Regions from separate parts of the Homo sapiens genome. Here region 1 is linked to region 2. The links are contacts of gene promoters, found by promoter capture Hi-C in human tissues and cell types (Jung and others, 2019). All regions are on one chromosome and are shown on one strand. The core of a region is centred on a gene start or on the middle of the fragment in contact, and the rest is flanking DNA. Distances in the headings are between cores, read along the strand shown. Region 1 overlaps SF3B1 (splicing factor 3b subunit 1). Region 2 holds the start of MARS2 (methionyl-tRNA synthetase 2, mitochondrial).

What was found. Contacts are between HindIII fragments. The study calls those that stand out against the background at their distance.
Region 1: a contact is called between a fragment that was not itself captured here and the fragment with the promoter of MARS2 in region 2, in 2 of the 25 tissues and cell types used here (H1 embryonic stem cells and aorta).

The regions. Positions count from the first base shown.
Region 1 is chr2:197,397,186-197,401,987 of GRCh38, reverse strand. SF3B1 (splicing factor 3b subunit 1) reads left to right here. Exons shown (of 25, transcript NM_012433.4): 15 at 1-3; 16 at 100-246; 17 at 463-588; 18 at 1,052-1,273; 19 at 1,554-1,736; 20 at 1,822-1,933; 21 at 3,407-3,527; 22 at 3,872-4,003. Among named protein-coding and RNA genes, the nearest start is that of SF3B1, 35 kb to the left of the region's middle. The HindIII fragment of the contact is 4,421 bases long and covers 1-3,663 here.
Region 2 is chr2:197,703,235-197,708,248 of GRCh38, reverse strand. MARS2 (methionyl-tRNA synthetase 2, mitochondrial) reads right to left here and starts at 2,880. Exons shown (of 1, transcript NM_138395.4): 1 at 1-2,880. The coding sequence starts at 2,843. The coding sequence ends at 1,062. RefSeq lists enhancers at 2,477-2,596, 2,637-2,686 and a silencer at 2,827-3,066. The HindIII fragment of the contact is 12,008 bases long and covers 1-5,014 here.

The sequences.
Region 1 (4,802 bases), core at 204-2,703, 300 kb after region 2:
AAGGTAAATCCACCAATTACCTTTTGATTTATCTTCATTAAAGTTAAGGCGACATAAATCTAAATTACTAAAGTACATATATTTTTTATTTAAAAATAGGGTTTGGCTGCTTTCTTGAAGGCTATTGGGTATCTTATTCCTCTTATGGATGCAGAATATGCCAACTACTATACTAGAGAAGTGATGTTAATCCTTATTCGAGAATTCCAGTCTCCTGATGAGGAAATGAAAAAAATTGTGCTGAAGGTAATTATTCCAGATTTGTTAATGTAAACTGGATATGTTTCATGGTTCTAACAGAATTTTAAAGTGTTTTTAAAAATCAACAAAAAAAACTGTATGTTACACGAATACTGTTTGATTTGTTTTTAAATTTTATTTTTTAAAATCACGTAATCAGCAATGAGTATTCTCTTCATTTCAGGTCAGTTGATTTATTATTACTATTTCTTAACCTTTTAGGTGGTAAAACAGTGTTGTGGGACAGATGGTGTAGAAGCAAACTACATTAAAACAGAGATTCTTCCTCCCTTTTTTAAACACTTCTGGCAGCACAGGATGGCTTTGGATAGAAGAAATTACCGACAGGTAAGCTTTTATTGTAAAAGAATATTCTCAAAAGTCCTTTCAACTCATTCTTTAGTCAACTTGAATGCATGTTGTATATTATTTTTTGCCTTGATTATCTCACAGTTTATATGTGCTTGATTATGAAAGGAGATGGATTTTAGTCAGCCAGTTAACTTCCATTTTGATTTTGGATTCGAGGATTAATACTTAACTGTGAATTGATGTTTTTGTCTGGTACATTCAGTGCTTTATCTGGCTAGATGAAACATGGACACAGTTTTACCTTGAATCATGTTAACTTATACTCATTTTTCGATGTTTGGTCACTTTTCTCTTCAACTTTAATAAGTAGCAATGAATCATTCTTACCATGTTTATTAGCTAAATAAGTAGTATATTTAGAGTATTTGGTTTTCATGATGTTGCTTTATTTCCTTGGAAAAGCAGTCTAAAAGGTTTTTTGTTTTTCTGTTCTTTTTAGTTAGTTGATACTACTGTGGAGTTGGCAAACAAAGTAGGTGCAGCAGAAATTATATCCAGGATTGTGGATGATCTGAAAGATGAAGCCGAACAGTACAGAAAAATGGTGATGGAGACAATTGAGAAAATTATGGGTAATTTGGGAGCAGCAGATATTGATCATAAACTTGAAGAACAACTGATTGATGGTATTCTTTATGCTTTCCAAGAACAGACTACAGAGGTAATGAAAACTATTATGGCACATTGCTACTAACTTTAATATTTGTAGAAAAGCATATTAGTTGTCAAGCAAATTTTTCTAGAATGCAATTGAATTTGAAGTAATTTTTAAAATGCTCAGGGGGTTACCAAACGATATTATTCTACCTCAAGTTTTAAGATTTGATGTAAAAAAACAGCAACAGATGTTTGGGTGGTTAGAAAAGGTTGACTCTTAGTGTATTTCAACTGTGCAGTCATAAACCAAATGAATATGTCTTTTTTTTAAATTTATTTTTTAGGACTCAGTAATGTTGAACGGCTTTGGCACAGTGGTTAATGCTCTTGGCAAACGAGTCAAACCATACTTGCCTCAGATCTGTGGTACAGTTTTGTGGCGTTTAAATAACAAATCTGCTAAAGTTAGGCAACAGGCAGCTGACTTGATTTCTCGAACTGCTGTTGTCATGAAGACTTGTCAAGAGGTAAACTTTTGCATCAAATTCTTACTTCTTCCCCAAATAGTTTAATGTAAATAGTAACATTTTAACATTATTTGTTTTATTATAGGAAAAATTGATGGGACACTTGGGTGTTGTATTGTATGAGTATTTGGGTGAAGAGTACCCTGAAGTATTGGGCAGCATTCTTGGAGCACTGAAGGCCATTGTAAATGTCATAGGTATGGAATTTGCTGGTTACATAAGACTTTTTCTTGTTTTAACTTTCTTTTTCTTTTTTTTTTCGTAAGTAAAATCTTATTTAGGAGTTGGGAGGTTTTTGTTAGCTTTTTAAAAGCACTTCAAGATTGTAGTTAAGTCGGGGGATGTCACAAAAGTCTTGTTTCCCAAAACCCATTTATATTTTACTTTAAAGAGAAAAAAAGGGTAAGTTTAGGACCTACATGAGAGGTGGGAGTAGTCACAGCTCAAAAAGCTTTGAAGTCATGGAATACAGGACCCTAGTAGAAATAGTGTGTCAGGTGAAATATATTCTGCCATGTTCTGCTGCGGGGTGAAAAGGCAATCCTAAAGTTTTAATTTAGTTTTAGAACAATATATATATATTTAAACCTTGAATTAGCGATTATGACAGGTTTTTTGCTTGTGATCAGTTTCAAGGAATATAATCAGAGAAAAGTGAACTGATCAAATTATTGTCTTTATTTACATACCCAAGTTTTAAATACTGTCCATTCAGTTTTCTAACCCGTAATACAGCTATATTACAAATGGTCTTGGATATGGAGAGCAAAGTTTTTATTCCATTAGGGCAGTATGAAGAAAACAAATGGTTTCTTATATTTAATCTTTTTTTTAAATTGATTATAACTGTTGCCAAATGTAACTCCTGCAGAGTTTAGAGGCTCTGATAACCTAGCAGAAGTCAAAATAGCTGACTGTGAGAGAGCCACTGTTTGTTTTTCCTCATTTTGTAAGAGGTATTTATGCGATACACATGTTTAAACTATTGTATTTGCATATAATCTCCAATGCAACCCTATCCTCTATACTTGAAGATAGCTACTTGCCAGAAATCATTTACATGGCCACTTGTAGGGCTCTGGTTTGCAGGGAGTTTTAAACCATATTGTTTGTCAGAGAGGCATGGGAAGAGCAATGGAGAGAGAATCAGAGCAAGTGATTCTAGTTAGAGCAAGAGCCCCTGCCAGCTGCCTCCTTTTTTCTCTCTTCGTAGGTGTAAATACCATCCAAGTATGCCCTGCATTGCAGGGAGACTGGAGATCTGTTTGTTTTGCAGTTAAAGGGTAAGGGGGCCCTTTCTGGAAATTTTTGCTTTATTTACATGTTTACCTCTGGCTTATATTGTTGTGTATGGCCGGAACATAAGCTGTCCCCATATTTAAATGTCAGTGCACAAATATATTTCAGAATCAAACAAAACTTTTTTGTTATTGAGTATCCATCATCCTTTAAATCACTTCACTGATTTCTTTCATTTCTATACATAATCAAAAATTGTTAATAAAAGTTAAAAACGATTCTGAGTCTGGTCAGAATCTGGGGCTTTCTCTTTCCCTAGGCAGCTGTAAGTTTATATTTATACATAGTCATATATGACATTGCTAAGTAAAAGGAAAGTGAACAAAAGTTGCAATTCAAATGTTGATAGTTTATTGACTTCTATTAAATAGGTATGCATAAGATGACTCCACCAATTAAAGATCTGCTGCCTAGACTCACCCCCATCTTAAAGAACAGACATGAAAAAGTACAAGAGAATTGTATTGATCTTGTTGGTCGTATTGCTGACAGGTAAGCAGATTACCCACACATTTTTATAAGCAGTATCAATTTTCAAATTTGGCCACTTTGTATTCAATTAGCAAAATTTCCTTAATGTCACTAATATAAGTGTAAAAGATTAGGCTATCCAGTATTAATATTTTCAGTCAAATTTCAATTTGGATGGTAATGGGGGTGGCAATGTAATTTTAGGACTAAACCTGTAAGACTAACTCTTCAGCCTTTCTGAAGAGTAGTAAGTTTTATTTAATGCTTAAAATGAGTTAATCATGTTTTTAGAACTGAATTTGCAAATTTATCCTTAAAACTTTTCTTAATGTCACAATAATTAATATGTGTATTTTTTAAATTAGGGGAGCTGAATATGTATCTGCAAGAGAGTGGATGAGGATTTGCTTTGAGCTTTTAGAGCTCTTAAAAGCCCACAAAAAGGCTATTCGTAGAGCCACAGTCAACACATTTGGTTATATTGCAAAGGCCATTGGGTGAGTGTTATTTACTTCCATTAAAAAAAAATTACTTTATAATAAATGCATTGTGGTATTGGAAAATACTTCCATGTAGAAATCTCTTTTGAGGCATGGTCTGAATAATGCAGTTGAGAAAGCTCTTCATTTAACCACTGACCTTCTGATTATTGGAATGTATTGTTAAATTCTTTTTTTTTTTTTTTGAGACGGAGTCTCGCTCTGTCACCCTGGCTGGAATGCAGTGATTCAATCTCGGCTCACTGCAACCACCGCCTCCCAGGTGCAGGCGATTCTCCTGCCTCAGCCTCCCCAGTAGCTGGGACTACAGGCATGCACCATCACGCCTAGGTAATTTTTGTATTTTTTAGTAGAGATGAGGTTTCACCATGTGGGCCAGGCTGTTCTCGAACTCCTGGCCTCAAGTGAGCCACCTATCTTGGCCTCCAAAAGTGCTGAGATTACAGGCGTGAGCCACTGCGCACAGCCTGTAGTCTTAAATTCTTAATTAAAATAGATGGAAGGGTTTAAGACTTACTTTAATTACACTTTAGGTGTTTTCAGGGAGGGAAACAGTACCATTTTCAGAAAAATTTAAAATGTGTGCTGGTCTTCTAGGATATTGCTTAAACTATTAAGGCAAGTTTTTAGTCTCACAACATCATTTAAGTCTCATATTAATGCTTTATATGTTTTAAAAATCTTATTATGGATTGTTTGAGCCCAGGAGTTCAAGGTTACAGTGAGCTGTGATTGTGCCACTGCACTCCAACCTGGGCATCTGGGCACCTGGGCGACAGGGCGAGACCCTGTCTCT
Region 2 (5,014 bases), core at 1,631-4,130:
AAAGAAATCATGAGGTAAATTATGCACATGGATAACAAAATTAAGACTATAAGAAATATAAAGAAAACATTGCCCTTTTGAACTATTTACAAATTTTTAAATCATACCTGTAACCTAATGTTACTAAAGTTTAAAATTTTTAACATACCAAGTGCCTCAAGAGTTTTATAATTTATTATATAAACAACTTGATACATTTACTTATTCACTTATTAAACATTTAACAGAGTAAATGTCATTTTTCAGTAGTCTGAAAAAGAACGAGGATTCTGATAAGTTTGGGGGGGTTTTTTGCTTTCCATTAAAACAATAGTGGTTGCAAAGCTATCCCTTATTTTAAGAAAAGCAATAAAAATGTAAAGATCTGCAAAATTAGAAAGCAGAAAACTAATTTATTCTAAATATTCCGAATCCTCAATCTTTAGTAAGTAAATGTGTGAGATTAGAGCCATCTACCGGTTGAAGTGTGATGTTACACAACCCAACTGTTGGACTATTAACAAAGCAGGGAGACTTAGTTGTAGGAATTTAAATGGGGATACACATGGGCAAAAATCATCTGGTCTAGGACACTGGTTCAAGGGTTTAATAAAATACTCTCTTTTTATCAGGAAACCCAACATGTGTAACAAAGTAGGATCCCCCTGTAAAACCACCAGTAAGGGGCCTCCAACCCTGACCCTCAAAGAAAGGAGTCACTAATTAGCCTGAGAAGCAGAGGCCAGGCCAATGAAAAACCAGCCACGAGAGGTAGTTTGGGCAAATAACTGTGGTTTGGAAGGAGGCACAAAGAAGGAACAGCATTAGCAACACTGTCTCTTACCCATCTTTCCCCTGAAGACATCTTAGACACACAATGCACAAAGGACAGTGATCAATGGTCACAGAGAAATGAATAGGAGCAGGCACCTGAAAGGCTACAAACCTCTTTTCACAGGGACACAGCTTATGTGCTCATTTGATTCCACACTTAAGAAAATACTAGTATAACTTTCCTGAAAATAAAAAATAAAAAGATAACACATTTGCTTTTTTACCACAAGCCGGTAAGAACTGAGTTTCTAGGTCCGGTGGGCTTTCACCAGCCAAGTCCTGGACTGGTCTAGTCTTGGAAACAAAAGCCCAGTTTCAGGTCCCAGCCTCCTCCCTTCAAAAGGGCATGGATGTCCATAGAATCGAGGCAAGAAATAGAGCTCTCCAAGACTCCTCTCTGAGGCAGAGACCCCCAGCCTAGACAGCAGCTTGTCAGCTAGGCTTGGGGTGACAGGCTGCAGCAAAGTCCCAAAGACTCGCAAACATTCCAAGGCCACATGAAGCACAGTACCCAGCCAGGGAGCATCCACTGGGCTCTCCCAGTTCAGCTTCCATGGTGCATGCCTTTGGACAAAACCATTAGTTTGCCGGACACAGCTGGACACGGCCTCCAGAGCCTTATATATCCGAAAGTTATCATAGTGGTCTGCTACCTGCTTTGGCAAAGTGGCCACTGCGCTCACCAGAGCATAATCCTCTGCCTGAGCACGAACTGACGGCCCCACCAACCCTGGCTCACTAGGGAAGCAGGTAGTGCAGAAGGCTGGGTAGGTCTCAGAAGGATTTATTCTTTTGGCAGTGCATCGGTTCAAGAGACCTCCCAAGGCATCTGCCAGCTCGGAGTTCAGCAACTTAACCACCTTTTCATCATAGTAGTCACAGTCCCAGTTGGGGACGCCCTGCCGAAGGAGAAAGTAGCGGAAGCCATCCACGGTATAGCGGTTAAGGCAAGTCCTAGGATCCACCACGTTGCCCAAGCTCTTGGACATCTTTTGGCCACAGACTGTCCAGTGGGAATGGACACAGATGCGCTGTGGCGGGCTCATGCCGGCCCCTAACAGGAAGGCAGGCCAATAGATGGCATGGAATTTGAGAATGTCCTTACCTATGATATGAGAGGTGGCCGGCCACCAAGATTTGAACTCAGCATTTGGGTAGCCAATTACAGTGAGGTAGTTGACCAGGGCATCCAGCCATACATAGATGGTCTGCGAATCATCCCCGGGCACCGGAATGCCCCAGTGCAAGTGGCTACTTCTGCGAGACACGGACAGGTCGGGCAGCTCCTCGTCCAGCCACTGAAGAACTACGTGATGAAATGGTTCGGGGGTGATCGCCTGAGGGTTGCCCCGCAGCCACCGCTGGAGTGGCTTCCGGAACTGGGAAAGCCTGAAAATGTAGTTTTCTTCCTTGGTCCAGGAGACTGGATGCCCGCTCTCGAGAGATACAGGAAACGAATCCCCCGATGGGCCCGGCTGCTGGGTGACCTTGGCCTCAGGCAGGAAGCACTCGTCGGAAGCGCAATACCAACCTTCATAGACGCCCTTGTAGAGCAGACCGCGGGACTTAAGCACCCCCCAGAAGTGCTGCACAGCCACCCGGTGCCGGGCCTCCGTGGTGCGGATGAAATCTGTGCAGGAGATACCGGCCTCCTGGAAAAGCTGCTGGAACTGCTCAGAGACTCGGTCGCACAGCTCGGTCGGGGCCAGGCCCGCGGTAGCTGCTGCCTGCTGAATCTTCAGCCCGTGCTCGTCGGTACCAGTGGAGAATCGCGTGGCGGCCGTGCTGGGACCTCGGAGGCGACGGTGGCGGCATAGGGCGTCCGCCAGTAGTGCCGAGTACAGGTGCCCGATGTGCGGCGCCGCGTTCACGTAGAAAATGGGTGTAGTGAAGTAGGCGCGCACATCACAAGCATCATCGCCGGCACTGAGGGAGCCCGAACTGTAGTAGCGTGGGCCGAAGTCCTCCAGGAGAGACAGCCTACTAGCCCCCGTGCGTCCTAGCAGGCGGAGGACGGACGTTCGCAGCATGGTGCAGACCGGCCGCAAGCGGAGGAGGCGGCGTTCTGACAGCACGTGTGAGAGGCGCATGCGCAGCCGGGTCGCGCCGCAGCTTCCGGCCGGAAAGCCAATGAAACGCGGCCCCGAGCGCCGGCCCTCACCGCCCTCCCCGCCCGGCCCCGCCCCGCCCGCGCCTGCGCCGTCCGCACGCCGAAAGCCGCGGCGCCAGAGGCCGCCAATGGACGGCGGCTTGCCAGAAAAACAGCTCAGAGTTGCCGGGTTTAGGAGAGGCTATGAAAGAAGACGAACCTCTTTGCCTTCGTATAACATACTGTGTTTCCTGCTTTGGATTGTAATTTTATATTTATGAATCTGTTTCCCCCTCTAGGCTGAGCTGCTTGTAGGCAAGAGTTTTATATTCAGCCGTTTGTCTAAACCCCGTCCGTGGCTGGCATACTGCAAGACAGAGTATTGCTCTGCACATGCCCTGTCGATATCTAAAATGTCACCTAAATTTTATCTCAGAGCCTAAATCAATCTGTAAGGGAGGGAGAGAGAAAAAAGATGAAAAATCATTACCTACAGCATTTTGAGAGAAGGATAAGAACTGAGAATGGAAGAGAAGTCTTTAAACAGTTTTTGTTGAATCAACAAAAGTAGATTTGTGATCTGCCAAGTTCTTGCCAAAGTTTATTGAGATCCAGGAAAGTAGAGTGCAATATGCTGTCACTGTGCATATAAAGAATAATTTTCAAATTTATTTCTCAAAAAGTTAATTTTTTTAATGGTCTTGAAGTTCTTTTAAAATAGTGTTTCTCAAGTTTGCTTTTAGTAATGGAACCTTAGAATTTTTTTTAGGGGAGGAAACCTCAGGAGCCCAGAATTGAATTAATGTTAATCCCTAGTTCATAACACACTCTCATCTTTGATCTTTTTTTTTTAATTTAATTTAAGTAGCATATACATTTAATAATAAAATGGAGCAGCTATGAACCTACAACCCAATCTAAGAACTACAAGTGGTTTCAGAGTGTGGTCCCCAGAGCAGCAGAACTGGCAGCACCTGGAACTTCGTTCGATATGTATATTCTTAGGCCCCATCCCCCACATACTGAACCAGAAAACTCTGAGGGTAGGGCCCAGTAATTTAGATTTTAAGGTGATTCTGATGCACATTAAAGTTTGAGAAACACTGAACTAGAAAATTACCAGTGATTTAGATCTGTGTGCTCCTTTTCTTCTCGTACTGTCCTCCCTGAGGTAGTCATTGTCCTGAATTTTGTTCTTGCACATTTGTGTGATCACATACAAAGTATGTCTAAGTAACATTGTTTAATTTTGCTTGCATTTAAATATTCTAAAAAGGATATAATACTACATGTAGTCTTCAACTTGCCTTTTTATTCAACATTTTGTTGCTATATTAATCCATGTTGTTGCATGTAACTGCATTCATATGTTCTTAATACATGTTGCATGTAATTCATTCATTTTGACTGCTGTATAATAACCTTTGACTGAACACATATGGTAACTTGGATCTGATTTCTCTAGTGATATGATGAAAGGTGGACCAATCGAATTCTGTATAAGAGATATAAAAAATAACTTTGGATACTCAGTTGATGTGCTCTTATTTAATCCAGCAGTTTAAGAATGACCTACAACCATCTGGTCTTCAACAAAGTTGATAAAAACAAGCAATGGGCAAAAGACTCCCTATTCAATAAATGGTGCTTGGATAACTAGCTAGCCATATACAGATGAAACAGGACCCCCTTCCTATACCATATACAAAACTCAACTCAAAATGGATTAAAGACTTAAATGTAAAACCTAAAACTAAAAACCTTAGAAGGTAACCTGGGAAATACCATTCTGGACATAGGACCTGACAAAGATTTCATCATGAGGATGCCAAAAGCAATTGCAACAAAAACAAAAATTGACAAATGGGACCTAATTAAAGAGTTTCCGCACCACAAAATAAACTATCAACAGAGTAAGCAGACAATCTACAGAATGGGAGAAAATATTTTCAAACTATGAATCCAAGAAAGGTCTAATATCCAGAATCTATAAGGAATTTTAAAAATCAATAAGCAAAAAACCTCATTAAAAAGGCAAAGGACATAAACAGACACTTCTCAAAAGAAGATAGACATGCGGCCAACAAGCATATAAAAAATGCTTAACATCAC